Linked DNA regions of Homo sapiens: all the other regions are linked to region 4. The links are contacts of gene promoters, found by promoter capture Hi-C in blood cells and fetal thymus (Javierre and others, 2016). All regions are on one chromosome and are shown on one strand. The core of a region is centred on a gene start or on the middle of the fragment in contact, and the rest is flanking DNA. Distances in the headings are between cores, read along the strand shown.

What was found. The method cuts DNA at HindIII sites, captures the fragments that hold promoters and counts their contacts. A CHiCAGO score of 5 or more calls a contact.
Region 1: a fragment that was not itself captured here is called in contact with the fragment with the promoter of MMP24 in region 4 in 1 of 17 cell types (M1 macrophages); the score reaches 6.7 in M1 macrophages.
Region 2: a fragment that was not itself captured here is called in contact with the fragment with the promoter of MMP24 in region 4 in 1 of 17 cell types (M1 macrophages); the score reaches 5.1 in M1 macrophages.
Region 3: a fragment that was not itself captured here is called in contact with the fragment with the promoter of MMP24 in region 4 in 2 of 17 cell types (megakaryocytes and M2 macrophages); the score reaches 5.8 in megakaryocytes.

What each region holds. Positions count from the first base shown.
Region 1 is chr20:35,025,125-35,027,824 of GRCh38, forward strand. All of the region lies in intron 8 of TRPC4AP (transient receptor potential cation channel subfamily C member 4 associated protein), which reads right to left. Among named protein-coding and RNA genes, the nearest start is that of MIR499B, 36 kb to the left of the region's middle. The HindIII fragment of the contact is 1,287 bases long and covers 745-2,031 here.
Region 2 is chr20:35,044,439-35,047,138 of GRCh38, forward strand. It overlaps TRPC4AP (transient receptor potential cation channel subfamily C member 4 associated protein), which reads right to left. Exons shown (of 19, transcript NM_015638.3): 7 at 67-274. Among named protein-coding and RNA genes, the nearest start is that of TRPC4AP, 47 kb to the right of the region's middle. The HindIII fragment of the contact is 4,223 bases long and covers 1-2,700 here.
Region 3 is chr20:35,095,565-35,098,264 of GRCh38, forward strand. No RefSeq gene overlaps it. Among named protein-coding and RNA genes, the nearest start is that of TRPC4AP, 4.1 kb to the left of the region's middle. RefSeq lists a silencer at 778-907. The HindIII fragment of the contact is 4,290 bases long and covers 1-2,700 here.
Region 4 is chr20:35,225,279-35,227,978 of GRCh38, forward strand. It overlaps MMP24 (matrix metallopeptidase 24), which reads left to right and starts at 1,412. Exons shown (of 9, transcript NM_006690.4): 1 at 1,412-1,706. The coding sequence starts at 1,461. The region is part of intron 3 of MMP24-AS1-EDEM2 (MMP24-AS1-EDEM2 readthrough); the gene reads right to left. The HindIII fragment of the contact is 9,584 bases long and covers 1-2,700 here.

The sequences.
Region 1 (2,700 bases), core at 138-2,637, 200 kb before region 4:
CTTGCCAACCCTTATTATCCACCTTTTTTGATGATAACCATTCTAGTGAGTATGAAGTACTATATCATTGTGGGGTTTGTTTTTTCCTCTATCATCTAGACTACTTAAGTGCAGTGGCAGGATCACAGCTCACTGCAGCATTGAACTCTGGACCCAAACAATCCTCCCACCTCAGCCTCCCAAGTTGTCAGGACTATGGGCACGTGCCACCATGCCTGGCTAACCGAAACAAAATTTTTTTTTGTAGAGATGAGGTCTTGCTCTGTTGTTTGAGCTGGTCTTGAACAATCCTCCTGCCTTGGCCTCCCAAAGTATTGGGATTACAGGTGCCAGCCACTGTGCCTGGCCTCACTGTGGTTTTGATTTGCATTTCCCTGACGGCTAATGATGGTGAACATTTTTCACGTGCTTAATAATTATTTATATATCTTCTTTGGAGAAACATCTATTCAGATCCTTTGTCTATATTTTGAAATGGGTTTTTTTATTATTGTTATGAGAGTTCTTTATACATTCTAGATACAAATCCCTTATTAGATATATTATTTGCAAAGATGTCCCACCCTGCCTTACCCACAAAAAACGTTCTTCCATTCTGTGGGTTCTCTTTTCACTTTCCTCATTGTGTTTTCTGAAGAACAAAAAGTTTTAATTTTGATGAAGTCCAATTTATTATTTATCTGGTTGCTTGTGCTTCAGATGTCATTGTGTATGACAGCTAAATTGTTAAATCCAAGGTCATGAAGCTTTATCCTTATGTTTTCTTCTAAGGGTTTCACAGGTTTAGCTCTTACATTTAGGTCTTTGACCCTTTTAATTTTGTATATGACATAAGGCAGGGGATCTAACTTCATTCTTTCGCATGTGGACATCAAATGGTCCCAATACCATTTGTTGAAAAGACTACTACTGTTTCCACCAATGAATGGTCTTGGTACCCACTGAAAATCAATTGATCATAATAAGCATGAGGGTTTATTTCTGAACTCTCAACAATATTCCATTGATCAATATGTCTATCCTCAGGCCAGCAGCATAGTGTCTCGATTGCAGCTTTGTAGTAAGTTTTCAAGTCAGGATGTGAGTTGTCTTAGGTTGTTTTTTTTTTTTGAGACAGAGTCTTGCTGTCACCCAGGCTGGAGTGCAGTGGCACAATCACAGGTTACTGCAGCCTCAAACTCCTGGGCTCAAGCTACCCTCCCACCTCAGCCTCTTGAGTAGCTGGGACTATAGGTGGGTGTCACGAGGCTTGCCTAATTTTTAAATTTTTTATAGAGACAGGGGTCTCACTATGTTACCCAGGCTGGCCTCAAACTCCTGAGGCCAAGTGATCTTCCTGCCTCAGCCTCCCAAAGTGCTGGGATTACAGGCATGAGTCACTGTACCCGGCCTAGTTCAAGACTGTTTTTGTTAATCCAAGTCTCCTGCATTTCCACATGAACTTTAGGATCAGCTACTCCATTTGTGCAAAGTAGTCAGCTGAGAGTTATGACAGAAATTGTGTTGAATCTGTAAGGCTGATCTATAGATCAGAATGGGACTATCATTATCTTAACAATATTAATTTTCTGATTCAAAGACATGGGATGTCTTTACATTTATTTAGGGTTTAATTTCTTTCAATGATGTTTTAGAATTCTCAGAGTATAAGTTTTACACTTAAGTTCCTAAGTATTTTATTTTTTTGATCCTATTATAAATAAAATTGTTTTCTTAATTTTTGGTTTGTTGATTGCTACTCTATAGAAATACTACTCATTTTTTAATATTAGCCTTGTATTCTGAACCTTTGTTGAACCTATTTATTAGTTTACTGGTTTTTATAGTAGATTCCTTAGATTTTTCTACATATAAGATCATCCCATCTGTGAACAGTTTCACTACTTTTCTAATTTGCATGCCTTTAATTTCTTTTTCTTGCCTAACTGCCCTAGCCAGAACCTCCAATACGATGCTGAAGAGAAGTGGCAATGGCACTGCCACTTCCAGAAACGATCAGGAACTCGTCTTGTTCCTGATCTTAGTGGTAGAAGCTTTCAATTTTTTGCCATTAGGTATGTCAGCCATGGGTTTTTGTAGATGCCCTTTAACAGGCTGAGGAAGTTCTCTCCTGAGTTTTTGTTTTTACCATGAAAGGGTGTTGGATTTTGTCAAATGCTTTTTTGCTCCTATGGAAACGATCATGTGGTTTTTGTCCTTTATTCTATTAACACAGTGTATTACATAAACTGATTTTCAAATGTTGAACCAAACTTGCATAAATCCATTTGGTCATGGTATACAATCCTTGTATGTTGCTATACTTGGTGTGCTAGTATTTTGTTGAAGATTTTTGCACCTATAATCATAAGAGATACTGGTCTTGTGATGTCTTTATCTGGTTTTGGTATCATGATAATATGACCTCAAAGAGTAAGTTGGGAACTGTTCCTTCCTCTTTTATTTTCTATTAGAGTCTGGAAAGTATTGGTGTGAATTCTTCTTGAAACATTTGGTAGAATTAACCAGTGAAGCCATGTGGGCCAGGACTTTTCTTTGTGGGCAGTTTTTCATTATTTATTCAATCTCGTTGTTATACTTCAGGTTTTCTATTTCTTCCTGAGTTAGCTGCAATAGTTTGTGTCTTTTAACTTGCTCATTTCATCTAGGTTATTTAGTTTATTGGCTTATATTGTTTATAGTATTCCCTTAGAGTCCTCT
Region 2 (2,700 bases), core at 99-2,598, 180 kb before region 4:
AACTAGATGATTTAGTAAGGGCCTCAGAGCTATAATCTCAAAATTCTGAGAACTTGGAGACTTTACCTTGATTGATTTCAGCTGCAGAAGGCCCCAAACTCAAGCTCTTCTTCTGTTGAGCATTTTTGGCAAGAAGCGTGTGCTTGTCATCATTCCCTGTATCCATCTCTGAAATGGTGACAGCCAGAATCCGGCAGAAATTAGCGAGCTGCTGCTGATCGAAATTGGATACTAAGGAACTCAGATTGGGGACTTCATCTAGTCGGATCATTTCCTACAGAAGACAAAAATGAAACAATCCCCATGCTCAATTCACTCAAGAGATTGGATGTGCCTCTCTTTCGCATCCCCTTACATACGGGGCTTAGTGGCTAGATCACTTAGGTTCCTATCCCAGCTCTGTAACTTGCAGCTCTGAAACTTTGGTTAAGTTACAAAAACCTTTCGAGTCTTTGCTTGTTTATCTGTAAAACGGAACTAATCTACCTCACAGGATTAGTCTGAGGACTAAATTTACCTTTTGAGCACCACTGTTTTCAATTGTTCTTGTGGTATATTTTGCCTATTTAAAAAAAAAGGAAATGCCTACCACTCAAGTTTTGGAAATCATAAATTACCATTCTTGCTACAGATTTGCTTTTTTAAAAAATAAAATACTTCAAATATAGCTAAAGGCCTCTGTGTATCCCCCATCCAGTCGCATTTTTTTCTCTCCCTGCAGACGTAAACATTATTTTGAACTCTGTGTTTATTATTCCCGTGCATGTTTTTATACTTACAAATATTTCCATTAAAATACATGTTACTGCTCTGCATGCACAGTGTGAATGATACCATACTATACCTTACTTTTCATCCAACATTTTGAAGTTTATCTACACTGATACAAGCAGCTGATTCAATCACTTCCCGCCGTTTTACCCCACAGTTTAATCATCTCTCTCTTTTAAGAGACAGGGTCTCACTCTGTTGCTCAAGCTGCGGAGCAGTAGTGTCATCATAGCTTACTGCAGACTCAAACTCCTAGGCCCAAGCAATCCTCCTACCTCAGCTTCCCAAGTAGCTAGGACTACAGGTGCGTGTCATTACACCTGGCTACTTTTTTAATATTTTTTTTTTTGAGATGGTATCTCATTGTCGCCCAGGCTGGAGTGCAGTGGCGCAATCTTGACTCACTGCAAACTCCACCTCCTGGGTTCAAGTGATTCTCCTGCCTCAGCCTCCCAAGTAGTGGGGATTACAGGCGCCCGCCACCACGCCTGGCTAATTTTTGTATTTTTTAGTAGAGATGGGGTTTCACCATGTTGGCCAGGCTGGTCTTGAACTCCTGACCTCAGATGATCCATCCACCTTGGCCTCCCAAAGTGCTGGGATTACAAGCGTGAGCTACCACGCCTGGCCAATACTTTATTTTTATGGAGACAGGGTCTCACTATTGTTGCCCAGGCTGGAACTCCTGGACTCAAGCAATCCTCCCACCTTGGCCTCCTAAACTGCTGGGATTACATGTATGAGCCACTGTGCCTGACCCTTTCTTCTTTTAATACATATTTAGGTAAACTACAGTTTTTCACTATTAAACAATGTTGCAATGAACATTCTTACAGGTACTCTCTGTGTACACATGTATGTGACCATTTATCCAGAGTGAGAGCAAGAATTCTTGTCTTTTTCTTGACTTTACCAGAAATAATTCCAAAACATTAAAATTAAGTTCAATATTTGCTGTAAATTTTAATATCCTATAAGTTAAATTTTAATAAATACCCTATATATAGTTTATAAGTTTTCCTTCTATTGCTAGCTTTTATTAAGAATGATAATTTTATGGAATGCCTTGTGCTATTTGGTTCTATTCTCACTCATTACTCCTTAAAATCTGTAAATGGCATGTACTACATCAACTTTTCTCATTTTGAACCATCCCCGTGCTACTCAGATAACACCTGCTATCCTTCATCCCACTAATTTACTTCCACTGGATTGGGTGTTTCTCTTTCACTGCACAGATCACATGAACTTTTAATAATCTGTTCCTGCATCTATTTCCCAAATAATCTGACCATACTTTGATGAAGGCATATATCCTACCCTTTCTCCTGAGACTCAATGCACAGGACCTGGTAGCAAGGGTATCAGTGAATGTGCCCAAAACGAGTGCATGATTCCTAGAAGCTCTCATGAATCCCATACTCGCCTCTATTTCTAGTAATGGAGGACAGGAATTTGCTGTGCAGGGGGCATTGGGGAACAACTGCTTCCACTTTTCCTTTTCCCTAGTACAAAACAAATGTAAGCTACTACTATTATTGGCAACTGTAACTTGTAGCTCACCAGTTCCTCTAGCCCTGTCTAACTCAGTATATGGTTCCCAAAACAGGTCCCACCACCCCCAGCCCACTTCTTATGGTTTTTTGTTTTGTCTTAAATTTTAAGATTTTTTTTTTTAAGGCGGAGTCTCACTGTGATGCCCAGGCCAGAGCGCAATGGCACAATCTCTGCTCACTGCAACCTCTGCCTCCTGGGTTCAAGCAATTTTTCTGTCCCAGCCTCCCAAGTAGCTGGGACTACAGGCATGCACCACCATGCTGGGCTAATTTTTATATTTTTAGTAGAGACAGGGTTTCACCCTGTTGGCCAGGCTGGTCTCCTGACCTCAAGTGATCTGCCCACCTCGGCCTCACAAAGTGCTGGGATTAC
Region 3 (2,700 bases), core at 186-2,685, 130 kb before region 4:
GAAATTAACTTTAAAAAGACATAAAAAGAAAAGGCATTTCCAGGGATACAAACAGGGCATTGGTGAGCTGTCCGGGCAGCAGCCAGCCTTACCAGGGAATCCACAGCCCAGGGATTCCACCCAGAGCTCTTCCTGAGGCATATGGTGATGGATATTCTCACCCTTGTCGCGGTGAGGAGACAGGATCCTGACTAATTTCACAGTTCACATGGCCCTCCAGGTTTCCCTTGGCACTCATCATGCTAGGGACAAATCTTCCCACCTCAGCTTTGACCCAACTGCAAATGTCACTTTCCATTCCTCAGTTCCTATCTTTGTCAGTCTAGCCTGGCCCAGGCATTCACCAAAGCTGGGTATTCACTGGGTCAAAAATGACAACCTCAAATTCAGTCCTTACAGATACCATGTGACCATGAAGTAAGGGGACATGTTTCCAGAAACCTCTGTGGAAAGACACTCTTTTCCACTTCACCTCTGCTCTGCCAGCCTTTTCCGTAGAAACTAGCTGAGGCTAGGCGCGGTGGCTCAGGCCTGTAATCCCAGCACTTTTGGAGGCCGAGGCGGGCAGATCACGAGGTCAGGAGTTCGAGACCAGCCTGGTCAATATGGTGAAACCCCGTCTCTACCAAAAACACAAAAATTAGCTGGGCGGGGTGAAGCGCGCCTGTAGTCCCAGCTGCCCTGGAGGCTGAGGCAGGAGAATTGCTTGAACCCGGGAGGCGGAGTTTGCAGTGAGCCGAGATCGCGCCACTGCACTCCAGCCTGGGCCACAGAGCAAGACTCTGTCTCAAAAAAAAAAAAAAAAAGCTGAGTGTCTCTCACCACCAGAGGGCGAAGTACCTCTCCCACCAGAGGTCTGTTGATGTCAATTTTAATCAGCACTAGAAAAAAAATGAAGCTCCCAAACTGGCTAATTTTTTTTCCACCGTAATCCCAAATGGCTTAACCAAACATGATGATGCTATTCAGAGAACATTAACTCTTGTAAATAAATCGCCAAACTCATCTCAATTGGGCAGACAGATTTTCTGGGACTTTTTTTTTTTTTTTTTTTTTTGAAGTCTTGCTCTGTGGCCCAGCCTGGAGTACAGTGGTGTGATTATAGCTCACTGCAGCCGCCAAGCTCCTGGGCTCAAGCAATCCTCCCGCTTCAGCCTCCCAAAGTGCTGGGATTACAGGCATGAGTCATGGCACCCTGCCAAGAAGTCACTTTAATCAAAGCAACTGGCACTGTTATATCAGGCCATGGTAACAGCTGTCCCATGCAACTATGCATTGTCCTGTGGTGTCATTTTTTACAGTGATTTTTTTTTACATTACATTTCTAATGTACAACCTCTCCATGATTTGTCTTTTAAATGTTTGTTAAGTACTATCTTATGTGCCAGGCACTGTTATAGGTGCTGTGGATATTGTGCTAAATAAAATAAACAAAATTTCCTGCCCTCATGGGGCTTATACTTCTGGGTAAGATCTACCCTTTATTGAGCACTTACCATTGGCCAAGCACTTTCTTTGCACTATCTTATTATTCTCGCAGCATTTTTGGGGAAGTTTTTCAAATCTACAGAAAGTTAAAAGATACACCATTAACACTCATATACCCTTTGCTTAGACTTGTCAGCTACTAAAACTATATTTTATCTTTCTCTCTGTGTATATATACACATATATGTACATATATGTGTATATATACATATACATATATACACATATGTACATATATGTGTATATATACATATACATATATACACACGTGTATATATACATATACATATATACACACGTGTGTATATACATATACATATATACACACGTGTGTATATACATATACATATGTACACACGTGTGTATATATACATATGTACACACGTGTGTATATATACATATGTACACACGTGTGTATATATACATATGTACACACGTGTGTATATATACATATGTACACACGTGTGTATATATACATATGTACACACGTGTGTATATATACATATGTACACACGTGTGTATATATACATATACACACGTGTGTATATATACATATACACACGTGTGTATATATACATATACACACGTGTGTATATATACATATACACACGTGTGTATATATACATATATACACGTGTGCCTATATACATATATACATGTGTGCCTATATACATATATACATATATGTGTATATATACATATATACATATGTGTATATATACATACACATATATACATATACGTACATATGTGTATATATACATATACATACATATATATGTGTATATATACATATATACACATACATATATGTATATATACATATATGTATATATACAGCTCTTTCCATATATGTATCTCTCTCTATACTTCATTTATACGTAGAGAGGGTTTGTGTTAGTTTTGCTAAACATTTTTTTTTTTTTAGACAGGGTCTCGCTCTGTTGCCCAGGCTGGAGTGCAGTGGCACGATCATAGCTCACTGTAGCCTTGGGCTCCTGGGCTCAAGGGATCCTCCCATCTCAGCCTCTCAAAGTGTTGGGATTACAGATGTGAGCCACTGCACCCATCCTGCTAAGCCATTTTTTGCTAAACCATTTGAAAGTAAATTGTAGATATTATGACACTTCACCTGCATATTTTAGAATGTATCTCCTAAGATCAAGGACATGCTCCTAAAAACTATGATACCATCACACCCAAGAAATTTAA
Region 4 (2,700 bases), core at 162-2,661:
TAACATGGAATATCTATTAAGTGTCAAGCACCTCATGCTGAAAGCAATCTTATACAGTAATAGTAGCATCATTTTATAAAAATGGAACAGAGCCAAGATATGAACATAGGTCTGACGCTAAAGCCTGTGCCCTTTTTTCATCTCCAAATTACCACGTAATCATAAAATACTATTTTCACACATCATCCTGCTTAAACACACACATACACACACACACACCACACACACACAACCTTTAATGACCACCCTCCCCCATTTTCCTTCAGAACACAACCCAAATTTATTATCCTAGCATTCACTGTCTTGTACAACTTCCCTCACTTCCCAACACTTTCCTATAGGAACCCTGTGCTCCAGAGAAACTTATCTGCCGCCTCAGGCACATCCTGTACACCCTCAACTTCCTCCCTGAAATGCCCTCTCCTCTCCCCTCCCCTGGTTTAAATCCAGCCTTTCCTTCAGGTCCTAGCTAGAGTCCCACCCTCCTCCATTACACTTTTTCCTAACTTCCCCAGCCCCTCATCAGGTCTCCCTCGACCCCTGGAGCAGCCGCCTGTATCCTTGTTGACACGTGGTGTTTGCCATTCTGTTTTTCTTTGCGTTTATGTTTTCTCATCAAGCTGTAAACCTCTGCACTCCAGGAAATCGGCCTTCTCTTTTTTGTTTTTGTTTTTGGGTGTTTTTTTTTTTCCTTTCAGCATCCCAAGTAGCCCAGAGCCCTACAAATAGAAAGCGCTTGATAAATATGGGTTGTTTTGGATGAAAGATGATCTTCCCAGCTGGATGAGCTCTTTCCCTCTAGGGGTGAGGGACTGAGCTTCACCTCAACTTCACCTAATGTCTCACAGGAATGCCCCCTCTTAAACGCTCCTCAGGTCTTCTCTACCCCTTTCCCCCACCACCCCGGCCCAGGAGAGCCACTCAGAGCTCCCTCTCCGGAGTCACCCTCTCAGACCCAGGGCTATTTCTTTAGCTTGCTCTCGAACCCCGCCTTTACCCCAGAGCCGCTCCTCAGTCTCCTCCCCCAGGCTGCCTCTCAGGCCCCCTCTCCTCCAATGCCACTCCCTAGGACCCTCTCCCCAGGGTTCCGGACCCCCAACCCCGGATATGTTCCCCCAGGGCCATCCAGTTGTTCTACCTCCAGGATTACTGATTTAGCCTCTTCCCCCTCCTGCTCAGGGCTACCCCCAGACCCCGACCTCCAGTTCCACCCCTTCGGACCCTGCCTCTAGAACTGTTCTTTTAGCCTCTGCAACCCCCTCCCCAGCGCCGCTCCGCGGCCCCTGCCCCAGGGCTGGTCGGGGAGCCACTGCCCTCGCAGGTCCCGCCCGGGTGCTGCCCCCGCGCCCCCGGCCGCCCCCCACCGGGGCGGGGCGCGCGGAGGCGGGGGCGCGCTGGCGGCCGAGGCGGCGGCGGCGGCGGCGAAGGCAGGCGGGCCGGGCGCGGGCCCCGCCGCCGGGATGCCGAGGAGCCGGGGCGGCCGCGCCGCGCCGGGGCCGCCGCCGCCGCCGCCGCCGCCGGGCCAGGCCCCGCGCTGGAGCCGCTGGCGGGTCCCTGGGCGGCTGCTGCTGCTGCTGCTGCCCGCGCTCTGCTGCCTCCCGGGCGCCGCGCGGGCGGCGGCGGCGGCGGCGGGGGCAGGGAACCGGGCAGCGGTGGCGGTGGCGGTGGCGCGGGCGGACGAGGCGGAGGCGCCCTTCGCCGGGCAGGTGGGGCTGGCGCGCGGGGCCGGGGCGCGGGCTCGGGGCATCCGGGCAGGGCGGGGGGCGGCACCGGGGACGGGCCTGGGCCGGGCCGCACCTACTGCCGAGGTCGCGGAGGCGGCGCGCCGGGGGTCCGCGCCTTGGGTCCGGGCTGGCGCGGCCCAGGGCGGGGGCTGGGGAGGGCCTCGCCGAGGGCCGCCGAGGCCGGGAGCTGCTTCAGCACCGCGGACAGGGGCAGCGGGCGGGGGCCGAGCACGAGGGTCGGGTTTGTTGTGTTGGCAGTGGGGTGTGTGGCCTGCATGACTATGTGCGAGGGAAACCGTACAACGCCTCGGAGTAAATAGTAAGCGCAGCCAGTCTGTTGTGGGTTGGGAGAAGAAACCGAGGATGTTCAAGCTGGAGAAGGGGGAGGGGGAGGGCGGAGGAAGGACTCGATCACTGTCTTCGTAGCTGAAGGGCTGTCAGGTGGAGGTAGGATAGACTTGTTCTAGCTTGGCCCCACAGGGCAGAACTAGGGCCAGCGGGAGTGGGGGTTGCAAGAAGACAAATTTGGGCTCGATATAGGAAGAAGTTTGTAACAATTGGAGCTGCTCAACCAGCTTAGGAGGCGGCGAGCTGCTCATCACTGGCATGTGCAAGTAAAAGCTCTCGGAGGGGATTGGATGGAGGCATGCATAATGCTTGCATGGATGCATACATCATCATCACAATAATGCCAGCTAGCATTTACTGAACACTCACTATGTGCCAGGCCTGGTGCTATGTTTTATACGAATTATCCAATTCAATCCTCATAACTACTCTATGAAATAGCTGCAATTATTATCCCCATTTTACAGATGGGGATACAGACTCAAAGAGCTTAAGTAACTTGCCCAAGGTCACACAGCTAGTGAGTGATGGAATTGGAATTCTAACCTAGGCAGGCTGACTCTAGTCTCCCCTTATTTACCCATGACCTTATCCTATATCTCATGGGGGGTGCAGTTGGACTAATTTC